Linked DNA regions of Homo sapiens: region 2 is linked to region 1. The links are contacts of gene promoters, found by promoter capture Hi-C in blood cells and fetal thymus (Javierre and others, 2016). All regions are on one chromosome and are shown on one strand. The core of a region is centred on a gene start or on the middle of the fragment in contact, and the rest is flanking DNA. Distances in the headings are between cores, read along the strand shown. Region 1 holds the start of GCOM1 (GCOM1, MYZAP-POLR2M combined locus). Region 2 has its middle 15 kb from the start of POLR2M.

Region 1 (3,543 bases), core at 489-2,988:
CAGCAAAGCACCTATAATTAAATAAATATTCCAAAGGAAACGTTTGACCCAAAATCTTCAGAAATGTTATTTGTATACTAGTCACATTTGTATCAACCCACCGTATTAGGTTAGGTACCCCAACTAATCCCCACCTCTGGAAGGGAAGTTACAGAGAATTTCATGCAATTCATGCAGTCTGGTCACACATATGATCCTCTCAGGGCTCAGGGTTAGCTTTTCAGTGACTTCATTCTTTCTCAGTTGCAATTGTGTTCAAATTGAGAAAGATTTCCATAGAAAAATACAAACACCCAACTTAGAGTAAGGCCAGGACTGTGGTTGGAAACCCCCTTGGACCCAATGTAGATCTTACTCTATGATGCTAATGATTGGACAACTGGAGTTCTGTCAACCTTGGGCATGAGCCAACTGATGGATTCTGGGGTGTGTGTGTGTGTGTGTGTGTGTGTGCGCCTGTGTACACAACCTAAGTGTCTGGTGAGTGCACGCACACACACACCCCAGAATCCATCAGTTGGCCCATGCCCAAGAGTAACACACCTTTCTTCTAGAGCTAAGAAAGACAGCTTATAAGGTGACCACCATCACTCGCTTAAGGCATGTAAAAGCAAATAAGCAGGTCCAAGCCTGCACGCAGACAGAACCAGTGGGGGTTTTGCTTTGGACTTAACCACCTGTTTAAATCTTGAGGAAACACGATTACAGAAGTCTCAATCAGAGCAAAGAGGTACCAAATGATAAGTATTGAACATCATGATAAATGGAAGAACTAAAAAGCCACAAGCCAAGCCCCTGGCTGTGGCTCTAAGGTGCTGACCGTGTTAGAAAGATGGAGCATTTCTTTTACAGAGCATCTGGAGAGATGGGAAAAGATGCCACAAAGATCAAAAAGAAACAGCACTTCCAAAGGGAAACCTTCCCTGGAGATGCTGTCCCAAGCTTTCAGTGCTGCCATTGTTGTCACTGTGCTAATATTTAAATCAGACAGAAGAAAGTGGTTTACATAAACCGGAGTCCCACACAGTCGGGCTCCTGGGCGGCCGGCTGCTGTTCTGGTTTGCCCACCTTGGCTAACCCCACTCCAGAATTACCCTATCACTAGTGGATACCCTATCACTAGTGGACACAAGTGACCCCATCTTTCTTTTAATTAATGGAAGAAGGAAAGTTTGAGTTTTAAATACATTCATTACTTTTGAGTCTCAAGGTAGGGACACTGCACAAATGTCTTCCTTCATTTTTAAACTGGTGCCGCCAATAAACTCGGCTTGACAGAAAGGCAGGAAGGAGAGGAAATCTCTGGGAATTCCATAAAGTCCCCTAAGCCCTCTCCTACCAGCTGGTGGGCCCCCTGAAACCTCAAGCGGGAGGGTCACTGCCAGAGCCGGCACAGGACCGGGGAGTTGAGCCCAGGGTGGGGCGTCGGGGCCAGGTGCTGGCTCCCGAGCTTTCCCATCCCTAGTCCCCTCTAGAGGGGGCGGCCGGGATGGGGGAACGGGACGGCGGCGGCTCCCGCCCCCGCTACTCACCCTCCTGCTGGGCGCCCCGGGCGTCCTGGCGGCGCCGCCCGAGAGCAGGGTGACCGTGGACGTGGAGCGCAGCATCCCGCAGCGGCGGTCGGTAGCGGGCTGGACGCCGGCGTTCCTCCCGGGCAGAATAAGCGTGCGGGGCCCGCCCTGCGCGGGGGCGACGCGGGACGGCGCCGGCTACTTGCAGCCTCAGCTGCACCGCGAAGGCCCGGGGGTGGGGCCGGGGGCGGGGCCGGGCCGGGCCGGGGCGGGGCCGAGCGCGCTCACCCGACCCGTCAGGCTGCATTTTCTCCCGAGGGCGCCGACCCGGTTAAAGTTGAGCACCATCCTCTCCCAGGGCGCTGCGCCCTCCCAGGGTCAGTCCCAGGGCAAGAAGGAGCCCTGGACAGCCTGGACGCCCATGCTCTCTCTGTCCCCCGCAGAGTTGAGATCCACCTGCCCATTCAGTCTCACGACCTACCCCCACCCCGGACTGCCCCCTACAGCCTCTGCACGCCCTCGTATCACTGGGACCCTCACCCCATGTCATTCATTCAGTATTTCCTGAATGCCTATTATGCGTCCCCACCAGCAGCCAACCCAGTCGACTGGCTGTTGGCCTCGGAGAGTTTGCAGTGTGGTGGGGATGACAGGTGCCGGGCTGTGGTAGAAGAGGAGATACCATGTACTAAGGGAGCACACAGCCAACCTCAGAGGAGGTGATGACTAAGCTAAGACCTGAAATGCAAGTAGGAGTGGGCCACACTGCCCATATTTATTCAATGATTACTGTGGGCCTGCCTGGCGAGCACTTTGCGTGTGTTACCTCATTTAATCCTCACCATTGCCCTTTGAGGGAGTCACTGTTGTTACCTTGTATCCCCATTTTGCAGATGAAGACGCTGACTCACCTAGGGATTGAGCAACACAGCAGGCGACCCACTGGCCTCTCAGTGGCAAAGGTAGGATATGAATCCCCCAGTCCGACCCTAGTGCCTTGCTTGTCCCCTCTGCTGTCCCCTAACAGAGGGAGGAGGGAGTCCCAGGTCAAAAGAACTAGCATGCACAAAGATGGAAGGAAAGCAAGGGAAGGTATAAAATATGTTTCAAGAATTGGAAGTATCACAGTGCAGTGGGAAAACAGTGGAGAAGCAGCGGAAGGGAGCTGAGGACATCATGAGGAACCTGTGTGCTTAGCTGGAAATTTGGCCTTTATCTTGAGGACAAAGTGTTTTTCAGCAGGGAAAGACACAATCTCTGTCTTCAAAGCCCAGGTCAAGCACTGCCTCCCCACGGAGCTCTCCAGAAACCCCTTCCCCAAACACGCATGCTCAGGAACTTAGCAGCTCCGCGGGACCCTGTCTTCTGTTAGAGTTATCTATGTGTGTGCCTGTACCCTGTCCTTCTGGAGGGCAGAGGCCAGGCCTTGACCCTCTCTGAATGCCCAATGGCACCAACAGGGAAGATGCTGAAAAAAAAATGTTGCTAAACAGAATTACAGATGATCCTGTGGAACTCACTCCTTTTGTAGATGAGGAAACTGAGGCCGGTGTATACAAGTGACTTTCCCAAAGTTGCACAGCCTGTTCTTCACCATCCTCATCGTCATCCTCACAGTAGCTGTGCTTGTGTCCTAAGTGCTTTATATGCATTTTCTCAACCAATTCTCACAATGCCCCACAAGGTGGGCTACAGTTATCGCCCCTGTTTTGCAAATGAGGAAACTGAGGCCAGAGACATTAGGTTAATTGGTGAACAGCTGAGACTACACATCTAGTCTTCTAACCCAAGTCCTTCTGCTTTTCTGCTACACTCCTCTCTGCATCCTCCCATCCACCTATCCCTTCCAAAAAGAAAATTGTTCATGACAGGTTCCTTCCCATTCCACTTCCACGAAGCCCTCTAATCTACCCAAGTCTTTTTCATATTGTTAACATCCTATTCACACGGTGTTATATTTCTTTACAAAAGCAGCAGACAGCTCACTAGCTTGTGAGCTCTGTGTAGAAGCTGGATCTTGTTTACATCTCTG
Region 2 (3,543 bases), core at 617-3,116, 130 kb before region 1:
AGAGTTGGGGGAATGGCCAGTGGGTGGGGCAGTCAGAACATACACATGTATTTATTTCTCAATTAAATTCCCCATCTGATAGGGGAATGGTTCATGGCACCTCAAAACAATTACAAAGGTAACATCAAAGATCATGGACAGACATAATAATAATGAAAACATTTGAAATATTGCAAGAATTACCAAAATGTGACAATGTGACACAGATACATGAAGTGAGCATGTTGTTGGAAGAACTGGTGCCAATGTACTTGCTCAACCCAGGGTTGCCACAAACCTTCAATTGGTTTTAAAAAAAAAAAGCCTTATCTGAGAAGCACAATCAAGGGAAGTACAATAAAATGAAGTATGCCTGTACCTCCCAGAAGTGGTATTCCAGAAACCAGGAAAAAAAAAAAATGTTTCATGAAAGAGGGGGAGATCACCTATATCAAAAACTGCTAAGGGTTCAAGAAAAACGACTGGAAATTGATTATTGAACTTAGCAGCATGAAGGTCACTGGTGACCTTGACAAAAGCTTTTTCAGGAAAATGTTTGGAGCAAATACTTAAAATTTAAGTGGATGTGAGAGAAAATGGGAAGGGAGGAGCTGACAGTGTGATAGACAACTCTTCCAAATTATGCTTTCTTGCTACCCTTTGGCTGTTCAGGGCCCCTCCAGGCTGCTTCCTATCCTTTTCCTCCTCTTTCATGTTCCATTTTCTCTCTTCTCTCCTACCACCCTCCACCCCGCAAAAAACTTGCCCGTTCCATTTACCATTGCTTTAAGCCCTACCTTCCTTCAGGAAAAAATCATCTAATAATCTGATATGCACTGAGATATTGATAAGAGTTGATTGATGCTAATTAGCCAGCTATACTGTTCAGACCCCAAGAGTCTTGTTACCCTTGGATGCTGATAAAAGACTAAGAGGTTTCAGAAGGACAGGTGAGAAGTTTCTGTAGGCTGATGGAAGTGGAACTGCTGAAGATGGAAAAGAAGAGGTGTGAAAATGGGCACATTCAAAACAGACCAAGTCAGGCAGTGAAAAGGAAAATGGGGTCATGCTTATAAATAATCGGCAGCACATTACCCATGTTCAAGAAAATTGTAGTATCGGACCCAGCTGCAATGGTTATGACTATCTTTAAAAACATCTAAAGTTTTAAAATTAGAAACTAGATTTCTGGCACTGCGCTTTTTCAGTCATTTTGTAAACATGTGTTAATTAATTATCAGATGACTCCATATTAATCAAAGAGCACTGAACTAGGAAAGAAAAAAATTGGCTGTGTCGGAACCAGCTGCCCAACCACAGCAAGTCTCCGTGCTTCTCTGTGCCTCGGTTTCTTCACTTACAGGGTTTGGAACAAATAACTAAGCTTCCTTCCCTCCCTAAAATCTGAAGATGTTAATTCAATGTAAGATTTGTTTTCTGTTGCCAGTTACGGTGTTTCTAATGGTGCTTCGTTTTTACCCCCACTAAGAGTAACTAAAGGGGAGAAAAAAATCTTTTTTATTAAAAATCTAAATATCGACAGAAGATAGGCTTTCACTTTTACAACACAATCACTAGAAAAGCTATTTAATTCAATACAAATATAGGTGGTACTGATTAGGAGAAAGGATATATTTACTAGCAATATTTTCAGACAAAATTTATAAGCACTGAGCCGAGTCTCCCTCTTTTAAGGAGTATTTCTGTATGCTCTAAAATAAGGACTTGATTTACAACTCTCATTCTTTTGCCTTAATAATGTGCAATTTTTCCATATGAAGTTGGATCTCTCCTTAGCTCAATGTCCTAATTTCCCCTTGTCAAAATAGCTTTTTTAGGGAGTCCCTATTGTTCTCAGTTAATTTTAACACTAAATTAAAAGTTTCATATGGTGGTGATTTTGAAACATTTTACTTCATATGGCCAAAGGTACCTTCTAAACTACTTCAATCATAATTGTTACCATCGTTACAATAAGGTTTTCATATAGAATCTCTTTTAGATCTCAAAATGCTCTATAAAGACCACACTTTGAAATTTTGTTCTCTTAAAACATACCTCATACATTAGATAAGGGGTCACTGACCTCATCTTACAGACTTAATAGTCATGAGAGTACATAACTTCCCACTGGATTCAAAGGAAATAGTGGTATTTAAATCCTAAATCTAATAATCTAATGCTATTCCAGTGGCTTACCCTCTTTTTTAATTTTTTTTTGCCTTTTTTTAAATTCCAAGTTTTCTAAAACCATCTGGGAAGTAATAGATCATATTTAATTGTTCAGGCTTTTATGCTGTACTTTCAGAATCGCGTCTGATTTGTGGTCTGGCTCTGGTTCAGTATTATCCCACACTAGGTTTATTTCATCAGCCCAGTATCAAAGCTTCCTCACTTTAGCCAGAAATTAAAATAATAGCTTTAAGAAACTCCTCCACTCCACCCCCCTTTAGCAAGCAGCTAGCCAATAATGTGATTTGCCATATTTTTTAAATGACTATATGCTCCCCATAAAAGCTGGATATATAATCCTTTTATTTGGCACAGGCATTCCCAACTTTTTTTGTGCAACGACAGAATTATTTTTGTCCTAACAACTTTACTTTTAGTGTTACGAACTATGTCATTAAGCCTGGGAAGGCTAAACTGCCAGATTGACCTGGTCCTCTGAGTAAAGCCCATGACACTTTACTTTTCCTTATATCTCTTCTCCTGAAAAGTTTTATGCAGCTGACCATCAAGTAAGGAGGGAGGAGTGAAGATTCCAGCAGTGACTGAAATGATCACACAGCCGTAAGATGATTAAAAACGAAACACTGCAAATAAAAAAAATCATCAGAAGAAAAAAGCTCTCTTGTAGAATGTCATGGAGACCTGACAAACACCCCCAGAGTCATCTGAGCTCTTGTCTGGCGTTAGCACGTGTTAACACCTGAACGCAGCCTTGATTTGTGGTATTCACCTGCAAGGCCATGCAGTCAAGGGCCTAGAATCTTGAGTGCTGGGTTCTTTTCTTGGCTGCCTCTGAGCGACCTTGAACAAATCACCTCAACCTCCCAGTTATAGGAAAGGGAGATAATCCCACAAACTACCTTCCACATTAGCTCACAGCCTGGCTCCCCAGAGAATGCGATGTCGATTAGAGACAGGTCCTGTGAAAATGAAGAATTCACAATAGCAAAGACTTGGAACCAACCCAAATGTCCAACAATGATAGACTGGATTAAGAAAATGTGGCACATATACACCATGGAATACTATGCAGCCATAAAAAATGATGAGTTCATATCCTTTGTAGGGACATGGATGAAATTGGAAACCATCATTCTCAGTAAACTATCGCAAGAACAAAAAACCAAACACCGCATATTCTCACTCATAGGTGGGAATTGAACAATGAGATCACATGGACACAGGAAGGGAAATATCACACTCTGGGGACTGTGGTGGGGTCGGGGGAGGGGGGAGGGATAGCATTGGGAGATATACCTAATGCTAGATGACACATTAGTGGGTGCAGCGCACCAGCATGGCACATGTATACATATGTAACTAACCTGCACA

What was found. Contacts are between HindIII fragments. The CHiCAGO score rates a contact against its expected background, and 5 or more counts as called.
Region 2: a fragment that was not itself captured here is called in contact with the fragment with the promoter of GCOM1 in region 1 in 1 of 17 cell types (naive CD4 T cells); the score reaches 5.6 in naive CD4 T cells.

The regions. Positions count from the first base shown.
Region 1 is chr15:57,590,099-57,593,641 of GRCh38, reverse strand. It overlaps GCOM1 (GCOM1, MYZAP-POLR2M combined locus), which reads right to left and starts at 1,738. Exons shown (of 17, transcript NR_104371.3): 1 at 1,533-1,738. It overlaps MYZAP (myocardial zonula adherens protein), which reads right to left and starts at 1,738. Exons shown (of 13, transcript NM_001018100.5): 1 at 1,533-1,738. The coding sequence starts at 1,607. RefSeq lists a silencer at 1,740-1,849. The HindIII fragment of the contact is 3,808 bases long and covers 945-3,543 here.
Region 2 is chr15:57,719,883-57,723,425 of GRCh38, reverse strand. No RefSeq gene overlaps it. Among named protein-coding and RNA genes, the nearest start is that of POLR2M, 15 kb to the right of the region's middle. The HindIII fragment of the contact is 1,002 bases long and covers 1,366-2,367 here.